Regions from separate parts of the Homo sapiens genome. Here region 1 is linked to region 2. The links are contacts of gene promoters, found by promoter capture Hi-C in human tissues and cell types (Jung and others, 2019). All regions are on one chromosome and are shown on one strand. Each heading gives the region's core, a stretch centred on a gene start or on the middle of the fragment in contact. The rest is flanking DNA. Distances are from core to core; before and after follow the strand shown.

Region 1 (3,749 bases), core at 492-2,991, 90 kb after region 2:
TCTTCCTCATAGTATAAAATAAGCATCTTTAAGCCAATACTATTATAATAGATGAGTAAATAAAATGTGAAAAGAAGGACGAATCTTCCTTACAGAGTTATTCAAAATATTTTAGGCTGATAGTATTCTCATCATGTAGGTGAGGTTTAAACACTCGTGTTGATTGTGGTCTGAGATTATAGAGATGGGAAAAAAAATCACTGCTAGTTTATTTTATAACCAGTTTTTAGAAATAATGCCAAAAACATGGTCTGTGAGTGAATACAATTATTCATGGTAATGTATCCAAATTTGCAAACACACATTTTTCTGCAATAAACACTGATAAGCAACTAAAAAGACAAATCACAGACTTGGAGAAAATATTTTCAAGTAGCATTTTTGTTAAATAATTTCTTTTAATTCAGTAAAGAATTAAAAGAATTGATTTCTATAATGAATATGCAAGTAAACTCAACAACATTATATAAAAATTGTTAAATATAAATTTTTCATTAGGGATATGAGCATTGAAACAAAAATTAGATTCCATTGCTCACCTATTAGAATGGTTAAAATGCACAATCCTCATGGTGAAAAATGGCCGTAAGAATGTGAAAAAACAAGAACTAATTTGCATTTATGTTGGGAATCCCAAATGGTGCATGCACAAAATGAAATACATTTTGACTTTTTTTTTAACAGAGATAAAAGAGTTGAAATATGATCTAGTGGCTGTGTTTCAAAATATTTAAAACACTGATTCAGAAATTGATGTTTACACAGGAAACCAGCTTCTGCTCTCTGACATATATCACCTGGTTTGTGCCAAGAGCATTAACCCTGGGAGCTCCTCCCAAAAAAATGGTTGTGCACAGGGGAGATGTTAAGCTATGGCTGCTCCTGGGACTCATCGGAGATTCCTGATGGGCATCTGTAATCAGGAAGTCATCAACAGCCTTGCCGGACTTAACTTGCTCCACAGGTTAACTAGGAAGCACCACCAAACTCCCACATTTCCCCATCACTAGTTGTAAGACTGGCATCCTGGCCTGACAGTGTCTACAGCCTCACCCAGCCTCCTGTGTGTTTTTCTGCCTGCCTTACTTACATCTCACTTTGGGACAAATAAGAAATTTTTTAAATAAACTTTTCTAATCTAGAGACCTCAGTGGTAGGCACAGAAACACAAATATAGAGAGGCTCCCAGGGAAACTGTTCGATGGAGAGGAAGCCACAGACCCTGAAGGAAAGCGGCCCTTGACCTTCAACTGCACCTGCCCTGGGGATGCCCCTAACTTCTGTGGGAGTGAGTGCCCTCTGCAGCCCAGGCTCCTTCCTTCTCTCTGCAGGATATTTTGCGTTTTGGCTGACACTGGTGTTCCCTCACTTGGTACCTTATGTACAATAATACGAGGCCATGTTCTCAGCTCTGACTGTTCATTCACAGGTACAGTGAGTTCTTGGCATTGTCTTTGGAAATGGTGAATCTGTCCTTCACAGATTTTGAATGGTATAACTGATTCATCATACTTCGTATTTACTGCTCACTCCAGCACCTTCTCTGAAGCCTGGTGGACTCAGCTAATTCAGTAGCTTCTCATTCAGTAGCTACTAAATTTGAATCCACGGGCTGCACAGAAGACTCTCAAAACCCTCAGGCTGTCTCAGGCCTTCTCCAGACTCCACCAGCTGAACCTCACTTGACACCTTCACATACATAGGCATGGTTAGAAACTGCCAAATGTATCCACTGTTCCTCTCACTCACATCCACTTATACTCACTATCTCTAATTCTCCATGAATAAGCTTTTAAAATAGCAACAAGAAAAATCTAGTATAGCTTAAAGCCCATACTGAATCTTGTGTTCAGTACTGATTACCAAGTGGAAACACCTGGAAATCCCAGGGCTGGTACTCCTCTCCCAGAGATGCAGGACCAGAACTGGGCTGTTTTTTATCAGTAGAAGGAGAACCCAATTGGAATGTCTCCTACTACATAGCAAGCTCTAAGGTGGGATGCCTTAGGATAGGACAGGGCCCAGAGCAGATGTGAGACTCCTGGAGTTTAGTGGCAACAAAAGAGTTTAGAGAAGCATAATTACTTAATATGTGATTGTGCCATGAAAATCACTTAGCAATATATTTTACATCTTTTTAACATTTTTAAAAATATATCTGCATTAAGCAAACTTTAAGAGATATAAAGGGTGAAATAGAAAAAAATACAATAATGGAAAAATATCTTAATATCTCACAGACCCCCACAGTATCTTAGCAGAAATCGGAGGCAGTGGAGGTCACCCCACTTGAATGAGAAAACAGCTGAGTTTGTAAAACTGCACTTGGCTTCTCCACAGGCTTTGAGGTGTGCAGGACCAGCCACTACCCCAGACTCAGGCATAGCCCCAGTCTCTGCTCTTCAATTTACACAACTATACAGGTTAATAATATATTTCAGAACTTCATAATCACACATACACATACACATACACACATATGCCCAGTACTTACAGGTACATAGGGAAATACAAAAATGAACACATCAAATACCAAAACAAAACCTGAATTTATTTACTACTGTTATAGTTATTGAATTTAATTGAAATTATTTTGTTTTACACTATGATGTAGTGCAAAATAATGTTTTTCTATGTGATTGTTTCTCTATCCCAATGCCAATAAACAAATATATCTAAATGCATGTTTTGGTAAAACTAAATGTAAATGCCATTCTTGCCAAATACATTAATTAAATGTACATAGTATTTATGCATAAACTCTGTGTTGGTTTATTTGTCATTTACATTTTTGGTGTATATATAAAATACATATACATATATATACAATGTATATATCATATATACACATATTATATATATGTATATATTTTATATATATGTGTGTGTGTTTGTGTGTATATATGTATTTTGAGATGGAGTCATGCTCTGTAGTCTAGGCTAGAGTGCAGTGACACAATCTCGGCTCACTGCAACCTCCACCTCCTGGGTTCAAGCGATTCTTGTGCCTCAGCCTCCTGAGTAGCTGAGATTATAGGTGCCCGCCACCACACCCGGCTAATTTTTTGTATATTTAGTAGAGACAGGGTTTCACCATGTTGGTCAGACTGGTCTCAAACTCCTGACCTCTTGATCCACCCACCTCAGCCTCCCAAATTGCTGGATTTACAGGCAAGAGCCACTGTGCCTGGCTGACATAATTTTTAAATATCAGTCAATTATTAATACATGTAATAACCAATAAGATAAACACCTTTAAAATTGTATTACATTATTGGTTAAGTTCACATTGTATTTTTTATAAAACTCAGGATAAAATACCTAATGCTAGATGACGAGTTGGTGGGTGCAGTGCACCAGCATGGCACATGTATACATATGTAACTAACCTGCACATTGTGCACATGTACCCTAAAACTTAAAGTATAATAATAATAAATAAATAAATAAAATTAAGAAAAAGAAGAAATTAGGTTTGTTTTTGACAATTGTTTTTGCATGAATTTTCAATACAAATTCTAGATGTTTATTTGCCAATACTCCTGGATGCCAGAGAACATCCAGTAATATGGAACTGAAATCAGCCCAGGATTCCCAGAATGCACTCACAATGGCAGCTTGCTAGATTGTCATCTGGCAGTGTTTCAACACATTAGGAATTTGGACTTCATCATCAAAGCACTAGTGAGTCCCAGGGATGAGCACACAGGAGGCAGCAGGAGCTGCAGAGCCCACTCTGTGGTACTTAG
Region 2 (3,709 bases), core at 722-3,221:
AACCCAGAGGTGGGAGCACACTGGAGTGTCCTTCAGGGCATCTTCACCCCATGAGAGGGCTGGGGGCTTTGGGAGTTTGCAGCTGGCAGGAGTGAGGGCCCAGTCTCCTATCTCTGATGCGTCCTTGGTCAAATCCTGTGCCTCAGCCTGCAGGGCCTATCGTGGTCACCACATGAATGTGTTCCCTTAGTCTGGGAGCCCCAAGCAGGCAGCACCCCCTGCCAACGACTTCAGGGCACCTGGAAGTGGAGGCTGAGAAGTCTCCCACTTCGCAGAGCTGGGCTCTGGCCCAGAGGCCTTCTCGTTGGCTCAGGTGGTCTCTCGGGCTCCTGGGGCCACAGATCAGGGGACAAACACGGGCAGCTCTGCTCTGCTCTGCCTAAAGAGAGGTGCCCAGTGAATGCAGGTTCCAGACAAAAGGTGGAGCCTGGCATCCTGCCCTGCGTGTGGGCTCCAGCCTGCTGCCATCTGGGGAAACTGAGTCATGGCGAGGCTCGAGGATGTTTCTCAGACCACACCAGTCCCTGAAGGTCCCCTGACCTCCCAATTTTGATGGACAGTAAGAAGAGGTTCCCAGGCCGCCTGCCACAGGTTCTGACTCGGCCTGGGTTAGGGTAAGTCTCCGGGCTGCTGTCCTCAAAAGCCCCATCAGGAGGCTGTGTCAGGCCAGGCGCACCGTGGTGACAGCAGCATGGACTGAGGGTTCTGGCCGCGGGAGAGGCCAGGACGGGGGGAGGTCAGGTCCAGGAGGAGGGCACTGGCCGGCACATGGTGGGGCTGGAGAGACCCTGGGCGGGGTGGTGGGAATGGCCCAGGAGGAGCTCCGGCTCCTGTGGCTGGAGTGAGGGTGTGGGCTGTGGTGGGAGAGGGGGTGAAGGTGGAGAGAACAGGGGCCCAGAGGTCTGTGCTGTAGGAAGGGTATGGACTTCCTAGTGAGGACTTTCTGGTGGGGGGCTCTCAGAGAAGAGGAGGCCGGAGGGGCTGGGGGTCCCCAGGACTGCATGCGCCAGGCAGACGGAGGGGAGGCCGAGCCAGGAGCCGCAGGCTTCTCAGTGCCAGACCAACGTCGCCCTCCGCTGGCCGTGTGGGGAATCGCGCCTAGGCTGGGGCTCCCCTGGCCCCAGGTTAGGGGGACTCCGATGTGTCCTGGGGCGCTTCCTGCCCATCCAGCCTCCGCCAGGCAGCCTGGCCCTGAATGGCTTTGAGGGCAGCCTCCGCAGCACAGGACCTGCCTCCGCCCTGTGGGGCAGATTTGGGCGTCTGACTCTGGACACTTACCCAGAGGCTGAATTCAACTCCCCAGCGAAGAGCACACTCAGACTCCCTCCCCGCTGTGCCCAGCCTGAGGGGACCCTGGCTTGGACTTGGGAGGAGAAGGCCAGAGGCCAGGGCCTGGCTCTCAGGCACTAGGTGCAGGAGAAAATGGAGCAGAGTTCCTGCAGGAACTGCCTCAGACTGCCCCCGAGGGGACCTGGCCTGGAACCCTCCCTGTGCTACCAGGCTGCTGTTGGGGCCAGGAGGGCAGGGAGAGCAGCCACCTGTACGGCATCAAGTAACACTATCAGTCAGCACACCCAACACCCACACGACAGCCACAGCCCTCTGCCCTGAGGTGGCTGCAACTGAGCAGAGTCTCCTGTCTTGTTCACCCTGAGCGCGGAGCTCCGCACAGGACAGGATCAGAGCGCAAACCAGGAACAAATGGATGAACCAAGGAAGGGGCCAGGGCAGTAGGTCCCCACCCACACCCTGAACCCTAAGGGTGGGACTCAGAGGCTGGAGACGGGCTGGCCCCAGGATCCTCTAAGTGACAGGAACCCTTGGCCACTGTTGATTGCCCCGAGGCGGGGACAGGGATGGTGGGGCTGGGGCTGCCTGGCCCTTTAAGAGGGCAGTTCTGCCCACCACCCTGAATGCCCCTCCCCTAGCTACTGGAGAAGAGATCCCGTTTCTTGGCAACAGGAAGCTCTTGGTTTACACAGTGTCACCCAAGCGACTGGGAGCCGCGTCCTGCTCTGGGACTGAGCCGTTGGAGCTGCCCCGCTGACCGCACTAGGCTGACCGCAACCGGCTGACCACACACAGTCCTCACTCCCCTGGCCCTGGTGGGCGGCAGGCACCATGGCGCAGACAGTGCCGCCCTGCGAGCTGCCCTGCAAAGAGTACGACGTGGCCCGTAACACGGGCGCCTACACGTCCTCCGGCCTGGCCACCGCCAGCTTCCGCACCTCCAAGTACCTGCTGGAGGAGTGGTTCCAGAACTGCTATGCTCGCTACCACCAGGCCTTCGCCGACCGCGACCAGTCGGAGCGGCAGCGGCACGAGAGCCAGCAGCTGGCCACAGAGACCCAGGCGCTGGCGCAGCGCACGCAGCAAGACTCCACGCGCACAGTGGGCGAGCGACTGCAGGACACGCACAGCTGGAAGTCGGAGCTGCAGCGTGAGATGGAGGCGCTGGCTGCGGAGACCAACTTGCTCCTGGCCCAGAAGCAACGGCTGGAGCGCGCCCTGGACGCCACAGAGGTGCCCTTCTCCATCACCACTGACAACCTGCAGTGCCGTGAGCGCCGCGAGCACCCCAACCTCGTGCGCGACCATGTGGAAACGGAGCTGCTGAAGGTGCCAGCACCCTTGGGTGGCCGGGATTTGTGGGCGCAGAGAGGAGGAGCCCCCCCCCCCGCAGTTCATGTGGACAAGCCACGTGGCTGCTGCAAGCACGCGGGAGCCCAGCCCTCTGCACGTGAGACCCCTGAGTCCCGAAATCTGGCCCCTTAGTGACAGGAGGCAGCTTTGCCCCAGAAGACCCCTGACTTCCAAGCAGCTGTTTCTCCTCTCCTCCTCTAATCCCTTTGAGTCCTGGCACAGTCATCCTGACCCTGGGCTCCCTGGGCTAAGCCACAAGGCACCTCCCCAGAGACCCTCCCTCGCTGGGACAGTTGCTCCCAAGGTGGAAACCCAGGTCTGGGCCAGCACTGCAGGTGTGGACAGGTAAGGTGGGGTGGGCTGGGAGCCACTGCTCCCATTCATCCTATACAGAGCCGGGGACACAAAGATCTGCACCCACAGGTCCCCTCTCCTCCATGTCCCCTATAACTTCCCAATCCACCCCAGCTTGTCTGTGGGGCAGCCCCACAGGGTGAGAGAGTAACTCAGTCCTGGCCCAGATGCTGGCTCTGGAGAATTCTCTGACCTCTCAGAGCCTGGGGCCTCCCTGAGAACCACTACAGGCCTGTAGACATTCGTGAAAGATGTGGGGTGGGGGCAGCTGGTCTCCTGCCATACCCCAAGCTCAGGCAAGAACCCTTGAGTCCCTCCCTCCCCTCATGCCTTCCCTCCTCCCTTCTTTACCCTTCTGCAGGCCCTTCCCCCTGCACTCTCTCAGTGCCTCAAGAACTCCTGCAGCTCCCGCAAACTCTCTGCCCGCAACAAGGGCACCTGCCAACTGATGGAGACACTGACAGTGCACGGAGAGGCAAACCCAGGGATAGAGGGGCGCAGGACCCGGGCCCTGGCACACAAGGAAGTACCCAGTGGTTGAGGCAAAGACCCCAATCACAGAGAAAAGGCTTGTTCCTACACACAGCAAATTAAACTGGCCAGGCAATAAGAAGAAACACAGGGTCCTTCTCCTGTTCTTGGTGTGAAGATGGCCTTTCCCAGCACAGAGCCCTGAGGGGCAGCCTGGGCGGGCATCTGGGCCCCCAGAGTT

What was found. Contacts are between HindIII fragments. The study calls those that stand out against the background at their distance.
Region 1: a contact is called between a fragment that was not itself captured here and the fragment with the promoter of TEKT4 in region 2, in 3 of the 25 tissues and cell types used here (dorsolateral prefrontal cortex, lymphoblastoid cells and mesendoderm cells).

Annotation. Positions count from the first base shown.
Region 1 is chr2:94,959,667-94,963,415 of GRCh38, forward strand. LOC105373487 (a long non-coding RNA gene) reads left to right here. Exons shown (of 3, transcript XR_923074.3): 3 at 1-2,760. Among named protein-coding and RNA genes, the nearest start is that of MAL, 64 kb to the right of the region's middle. The HindIII fragment of the contact is 6,517 bases long and covers 1-3,749 here.
Region 2 is chr2:94,869,459-94,873,167 of GRCh38, forward strand. It overlaps TEKT4 (tektin 4), which reads left to right and starts at 1,972. Exons shown (of 6, transcript NM_144705.4): 1 at 1,972-2,619. The coding sequence starts at 2,122. LOC442028 (a long non-coding RNA gene) reads right to left here. Exons shown (of 10, transcript NR_037597.1): 10 at 1-1,239. RefSeq lists enhancers at 769-1,282, 1,796-2,309. The HindIII fragment of the contact is 10,124 bases long and covers 1-3,709 here.